Regions from separate parts of the Homo sapiens genome. Here region 2 is linked to region 1. The links are contacts of gene promoters, found by promoter capture Hi-C in human tissues and cell types (Jung and others, 2019). All regions are on one chromosome and are shown on one strand. Each heading gives the region's core, a stretch centred on a gene start or on the middle of the fragment in contact. The rest is flanking DNA. Distances are from core to core; before and after follow the strand shown.

Region 1 (3,244 bases), core at 639-3,138:
TCCCCATCTCCCGCACACAGAAGAGCGTACTGTGGCTCTTTGGATGAGGGTTTCCTCTCTTGCCCCAAAGAAAATGATGATAGGTGGTTGTACCTATCTTCAGAAACGCCTAGGGAGGGCACATTGGGGTGGAGGTGGGATGGATGTTCTGCTTCACCCTTGCGCCTGGATAATCAGAAGCTCCAGAAGCTGGCAGATTTCATCCAACAGGCAGCTTGGCCCCTAAAAAGAGGCTTGCATGGAAATGTACTAGAAGAGTGTCTTTATTTTAACTTTTCATTGATTAGAAAACTTTACATAGATTACATTGTTGTTAATTAAGGAAATTGTCGAATCGCTCAAGATGGCTCACCAGTTACAAGCATTTGGAGACACGGAGCCATTTCCCATCTATAAATTGGGCAACACCAAAACTGCAACCCTAAAACAATTTGGCTTAAAATACTCACTTTTAAAACACAAATAGATCTTCAAGGGTTCATTTATTCACAGTCTTATAGCCTGAGACTCTATAAAGACTTTCTGTTGTATTTAAGCTGGGGAATAACTAGGGTTTGAAATCCATGCTGCCTCTTTCTTGAGTCTAGACTCTTAATGCTCCCAACCTGTTCCCTTGGTCCCCCCAAGTCTGGCCCGCCTCTATTCCCGTAATGCCCCTTCCGCCACCTGACCCAGCCATGGAGATAGCCTTGTCTCAATGCATTCCTAAACTTATAGAACTGAAGACTCCACTGTTACACCCCCTTTCCAGAGGGCTTGGTGGGGGGTAGGCTTGAGAAGGATGGGTAGGGTCGCAGGAAGGAGGGCGAAGCCAGCAGACCTCTCAGGGAGGGCCGGAGAGAGAAAGGGGTGAAGGTTTTATAGTTGGAGTGCATATACTTCCAGCTCTCCAAAATGAAACATACCATCGCAGCTGGTATTACCGGCTGAATAGGCAGCAAAAGACCTCTCTGTGTACGGGTCCTAGTATGCTTCTTCTTAGCGCCAACGAGTCCTTGTCCCCAAAGTTGCCAAAACTTTAAAGGACCCCGGCCAAGGAGACCCCAGCATGAAAAGCCAGACATCCGAGGCCGGGTAAAGCCTCCTGGACTCCTCGAAAGCAGCTCACACCGGGAGCAGCCGGAAGCGGGCGCGATCTATGCGAAGCTAACGGGTTCCGGTGGAGAACATCAAAGAGAAAGGAGCAGGATCGAACTTTAGAGGGGCAGAAGGGCACGGCCCAAGAGAGCAGAATTGGGGTGTGGGACAGGCGGCGGGAGGACCAGGTTAGAGGGAGCGAAAGGAAGTGGATTAGAGGACAGCGGTTACAGGTTTCAGCCACTGCCATTTCCCCGCAGAGGTAGCTCTTCTGCGCCCTGGAGGGGTACCCGGACTCCCACATCCTGTCTGCCACGACCCGGACTCCCTAGGGGATTCCAAGGGACAGCACCGTCCTCCCCATACATCATCAGGAACCGAAAGCAGAGAATTTGCCCCACCTCGGCACTTCTGGAAGCACCCACTCAACTACAGTATGAGACAAGGGCTTTCCTAAGAGACCTTTCTCCAACTTTCTTTCTCTGCGTGTATGAGCCCGGATCCCTTCGTCCCCGCCTCCTTCTCTCTCTCTCTTTCTCTCTCTCTCCTATTTTGTCCTGGGAGATTCCTACTCGCGGTGCGAAGCCTCGGATCCGCTGGGAACCGCATAGTCTCCGGCACCCTTGGCCGCATGCTTGTCAGAGGTGGGCCCCGGGAAACACACTCGCTGCCCCTCCAACAAGCGTCCCTCGCTCCCCATTGGCCCCCCGGTCCCCGCCCCCCACCGCCCCCTCCCGCTCCGCAGCCCCCGAGTGGCGTCAGCACGCCCGCCGGGCATGGGCTTTAAATGCCCACTAGCGGGAGCTCAGGCGCTTCTGCCCTGGAGCGCGGTCGGGAGTAAAATCGCAGGAGTGGGAGGGTAGCGAGCCAGCTGGATTCCGAGCCGCGGAGCGCGCTGGCTTTGCTCCGCCTGATGACTCCAGAGCGCGGGTCCAAGCGCCGCCCATGCAGCACCCCTGAGCTCCGGGGAAGGAGAGTTAATGAAAAAACACTTAACCGTCTCCGCTGCGGAGAGTCATGAGCTGTCTGGATGTTATGTACCAAGTCTATGGTCCTCCGCAGCCCTACTTCGCAGCCGCCTACACCCCCTACCACCAGGTACGTGTCTCCTCTGGGGACTTTGGGAAGGAGTGCGCGCCCCCCGTTTGCGGCGGCATGGCCTGTACGCCAAGGTCTGCTGTGCCTCCGCGCGTCTCGGGCGTCCGACCACGACCGGCGCAGCCGGGATGCGGGGATTGCCGGAGCCGCCCCCAGTTGGTAGTGCAATTAGCTAACCCCTTTAGCTCGCCTGTTTGCTCTCGGGAAGCAGCTAAGCCCTGCTAATGTGAGCCTAGGTCTTCCCTGGAATAATCAGAGGAAGATGGCACGGGCTGGATTTTCTTCTTAGGGTCTGTCGGACTCCAGATTCTTCCAAGCCAGGTGCAGGTACCAGGAAATGCAGGCAAAGCTGACGCAGGAAAAACCAAACTTTGGTCCCAATGGTGAGAGTAACAACAAAACCAAAAGCGAAGGCCAGCCAGCCTCTTTCTGAGATGCAAGGGCCGGTGTTCTCATCCCTGCAAGTTTATCTCAGGAATAATTTCTTCCGTTTCAATTCTCTGGCGACCAGGGCAATTAATTCCAGATCCAGAGAATTCATTTCAAAGAGCACCGCGCAGTTTTATAATTTTTTCCTTTGCGAAGTTCTGGGAGCATTATCCGGAGTGCGAATGACCCGGCAGAGGCGAGCCTGATAGACAATACTTTGCCTTTCTCCAGCCTGAGTAGGTGAATGGGGAAGCCCTGCTTCCAACAAACACTTTAAGAAGACCACTCAACCCGGGTTCTGCAAACTCTTCAAGTTCCATTTAATTCTGCCAGTTTCTCTTGTCTTCAGGCTGCGTCTGTTTGAACCATTTTCCTTCCATTTCCTCAGCTGAGGTAGCAGAAACTGAGGACAGTAGTGCAGGAAAAGAATGAAATCATACACCTGGGAGGCTGTAGGGGTCCCCTCCAGGTTGGAAAGTGAGAGCTTGGTCACCTGCTTTGGGGAAATTGAAATACACCCCAATGCCCCAGTGGATGCTTTTGCTAATTTTGCCTGCAAATTTAAAATGTCTATTCGAAAATTTCCCGATAAATTAATGATGGACCGGATAGGGTTCACTTTTTGTTTTCTTACCTCCTC
Region 2 (3,585 bases), core at 1,064-3,563, 50 kb after region 1:
CTACTGTTCTACCTCCTGCTTTGGTTGTGTCTGAATCAGAAGACCTCTTCCATGAAGCCCTCTCAGGTTTCCTCAGTTGGAAATCACTCCTTCCTCTGGGCTTCTGCAGTATATTCTCCACTGCACTCTAATGAGTCCACCTACTTCCTACTTTAAGTGGATTATTTAGGTATCTGTAGACTTGTGTCTGTAGACTTACAACCTACCATGTAGCAAGTTCCTTGAGTGCAAGAACTACATCCTTCACCGTTGTATAGCAAACACCCAGGAAAAATTTGGTGAATTTAATGTTATCTGGAAGGCAGCACATTTACTACATATTTGTATTACTTTGACAGTTTTTTGTTTGTTTGTTTCGCTTTTTTCTATCTTAATACAATCCTTTTAACAAAAGTTAAGGCTAGGTGTGGTATCTCATGCCTGTAATCCCAGGACTGTGGGAGGCCAAGGCAGGCAGATTACTTGAGGTCATCAGGAGTTCGAGACCAGCCTGACCAACATGGTGAAATTTTGTCTCTACTACAAAAAATATACAAAAATTAGCTGGGTATGGTGGCATATGTCTGTAGTCCCAACTACTCAGGAGGCTGAGGCAAGAGAATTACTTGAACCTGGGAGGCAGAGGTTGCAGTGAGCCAAGATCACGCCACTGCACTTCAACCTGGGCCACAGAGAAAGACTCTGTCCAAAAAAAAAAAAAAGTTAAAAGGAGACTTAGGAAGCTTTTGATTCAATATTCCATTTTGTAGATAAAGAAACTGAGTCCTCAGAACAAAGGACTAGACTAAGCTTTCCGGGCCTAGCTGCAGTCAATTCTTAGGCATTCAACCCAATAAAATAGTCCTTGAATGCAGGGAGAAAGAGAAAAAGGCCTCTGCTGGTTCTTCTGAGATAGTGCCTCTGAGCACTCCATGTGGGGAGAGGCTGGCCTCAAAAGAAGTCAGCAGGAGGGAGAGTAGCATTTGTGATGGCTCCCATAGGCCTCAGGCCTTCATTCTGCCTTCAGCACCTAACGATGTCTCTATGGTTGCAGCGAAGGAGACGAAGCCCTGGAAGCTGTTTTTGGCAACCACCAGGAAAGGCTGCGGAACAGCTGAAGTGCATGTGAGAACCAATCTTTATAAGCATTAGGATCCTGGGTGACTCAAAACGATCTGGAAAAAGTAGATCCACTTTTTTTTTCAGTCCATCCTTTTTCATCCTCTCTTCACTTTTCATACCCCCAGCCCCACCACAAAACAAGACAAATCTACAAATAAAATTTATTGTTTAAGATGAGGGATTGAATGTGCGCATTTTTAGTTCCACTCTCTCCCCAAACCTTACTAACATGGCAGTATAGTGAAAATTTTCATAATTTCACAAGGGCAAATCAACTGTCATGAGAACTGACATGGCAGACAAAGCATTCTGGAAGAGGGAAAGCAGATGGAGGAGTGGTAATTTAGCAGAGCCAAGAGAGATGAAAGCTGACTGCCTACAGAAAGAAAAGGCAAGAATTGAGCTGTTTTTCACTATGGAAGCTCATAGTCTCCAGAATGGGAGGCAGCAGGTATCCCTGAATACAGGGACAAGAAGAAGGACTGAAAGCAAAAAGAACGTTTAGGTTATTTAAGGCCTAACTAAATCATAGATTCTTCTACCACAGATGAAGGCTTTTGTCTATAGAAAACAAACAAATAAAAACAACAGAAACCTGAACCAGAACAACTCCAAGTTCAGAGATACTACCAGTCACACTGAGGCACTGTACTGAAATGCAGAGAATTAAAATTAAATGAGAGTCCACATACTGAGCCTTGAGACCTCCAGCCCCCTCTAAACGCTCTGAGTTGATGCATCAGGCATTTACTGTCCAGAGGAGAAACGAGCAATTTCCTCCCTGGTTAAACTGGCATATGTCAGGGAAAAGATTCAGTTACTGACATTGGAGGACCCCCAGTGGAAGAGCAGGGTCCCACCTAACACCAAAAGGAAGCTTCCTTGGACACATAGGTTCCCATCATTTTGTTAGGCCTCACGATTAAATATGAAACCAGCCAAGAATACTAAACATTTGAGAAAGATTCTCACATTGAATCAGATTCCAAAACAAAGAGGAACAAGGAAGCCAAGACAATGCAGGAAGCAAATTAACACTCTTTGAAAAGCATAATTAATACCCTAAAAGAAGATGAGTAAAATTTTGCATCTATGAACAAAACCAGAATATTATTTTAAAAAGCAGTCAAAATACAAGAACAAGACTGTGAAAAATTAAAATATGTTAACAAAAATTTTTAATTCTACAAAAAGATTGGGGACAAAGTTGAGGAAGTCTATCACAATAGAAGGCAAAATGACAAAAGCTAGAAAATAGGAGAGAGCAGCTAATAGAATGAGAAGATGAAACAAAGCAGTCCGTTATAACAGGATTTCTAGAACAAAGAAATAGAGGGAATAAGGAATTCTATTCATTATCAAAGAGACAATGAAAAAAAATCCTGGAACTGAAGGGAATGATTAGCAAAGCAACTGTTACTTTACTATGAGTAAAGAGTACCACAGATAAAATTTTCCTCAAATTTTTGAAGGGGAGGAGGCAAAAAACAGACCACTGATAATAAGCTCAGGAATCAGAGTGGCATAAGAATTCTTATTGGCAATTGTAGAAGCGAGGAAAGAAAGATGTAGTGGCTTTATCTGTTAGATAAAGAGTTTTCAACCTAAAAGTCCAACCAAATTATCAACCAAGTGTGAGGGAAGAATAAAGGACGTTTTCTCAAAAATTAAAAAAAAGCAGATTTTTGCTGCACATGCATACTTTCTCTTCTAAAACAAACAAAAAGTCATGAGATACATGGAAAAAGTCCCACATGGACAAGAATTGAGGAAGATTCCCAGGTTGAATGTGAAGGAAACCCTAGAACAGCAGCTGTGTAGCTAGCCTAGAGCACAAGCATCCACACTGCTTCCAGGAAGGAAGTGTCCAAGAAAAAATTAAGTACTAGATTGTCTGATACTGTTAGCCATATTGAGAAAAGTGTTACAATTCAGTTGGGGAGTTTACGTATATAAAAACTAAAATGAAAACAAGAGATATTTATTAAACTAGCCTGAGAAAAAAACTTACATTAATAACATTTGGATAATTCAGCTCTAAAAATAATAATAATAACTAAATAGTTCTAATAATGCAAACCTGGAAGGATGGTTTATCTGCAAAATTGTGATAATTGTCAGAGGATGAGGCAAGCAAAGTTTTCCTGTGTGTAGCGTGGTGAGGGATGGACAGGTATATTATGAGGAAGTCTAAGAGAGTTAAATCCTCATCTTCCATACTGGGCAATCAATTTACCCCAAATTGAAAAATCAACATGTGTCAGTATGAGCAGACTATTTAGGAACTTGGCGGTAAATACCACAAGATACATGCGGGGCCTGAGAGGTAGGAATGAGGCAGTGCACAGGGCTCCTGTTTTTCACTATATGCTTTGTCACACATTTTAATTTTTTAGCCATATGATGTTTATTTTGATATAAAAATTTTTTTAATCCACCAGATTTAAACTTTGCTGACTTGTCTTATCTTACGTGTTCTCATCT

What was found. Contacts are between HindIII fragments. The study calls those that stand out against the background at their distance.
Region 2: a contact is called between a fragment that was not itself captured here and the fragment with the promoter of VGLL2 in region 1, in 1 of the 25 tissues and cell types used here (ovary).

The regions. Positions count from the first base shown.
Region 1 is chr6:117,263,670-117,266,913 of GRCh38, forward strand. It overlaps VGLL2 (vestigial like family member 2), which reads left to right and starts at 1,889. Exons shown (of 4, transcript NM_182645.3): 1 at 1,889-2,175. The coding sequence starts at 2,095. It overlaps LOC105377964 (a long non-coding RNA gene), which reads right to left and starts at 1,405. Exons shown (of 2, transcript XR_942911.3): 1 at 906-1,405. The HindIII fragment of the contact is 18,110 bases long and covers 1-3,244 here.
Region 2 is chr6:117,312,885-117,316,469 of GRCh38, forward strand. The region is part of intron 39 of ROS1 (ROS proto-oncogene 1, receptor tyrosine kinase); the gene reads right to left. Among named protein-coding and RNA genes, the nearest start is that of VGLL2, 49 kb to the left of the region's middle. The HindIII fragment of the contact is 4,879 bases long and covers 1-3,585 here.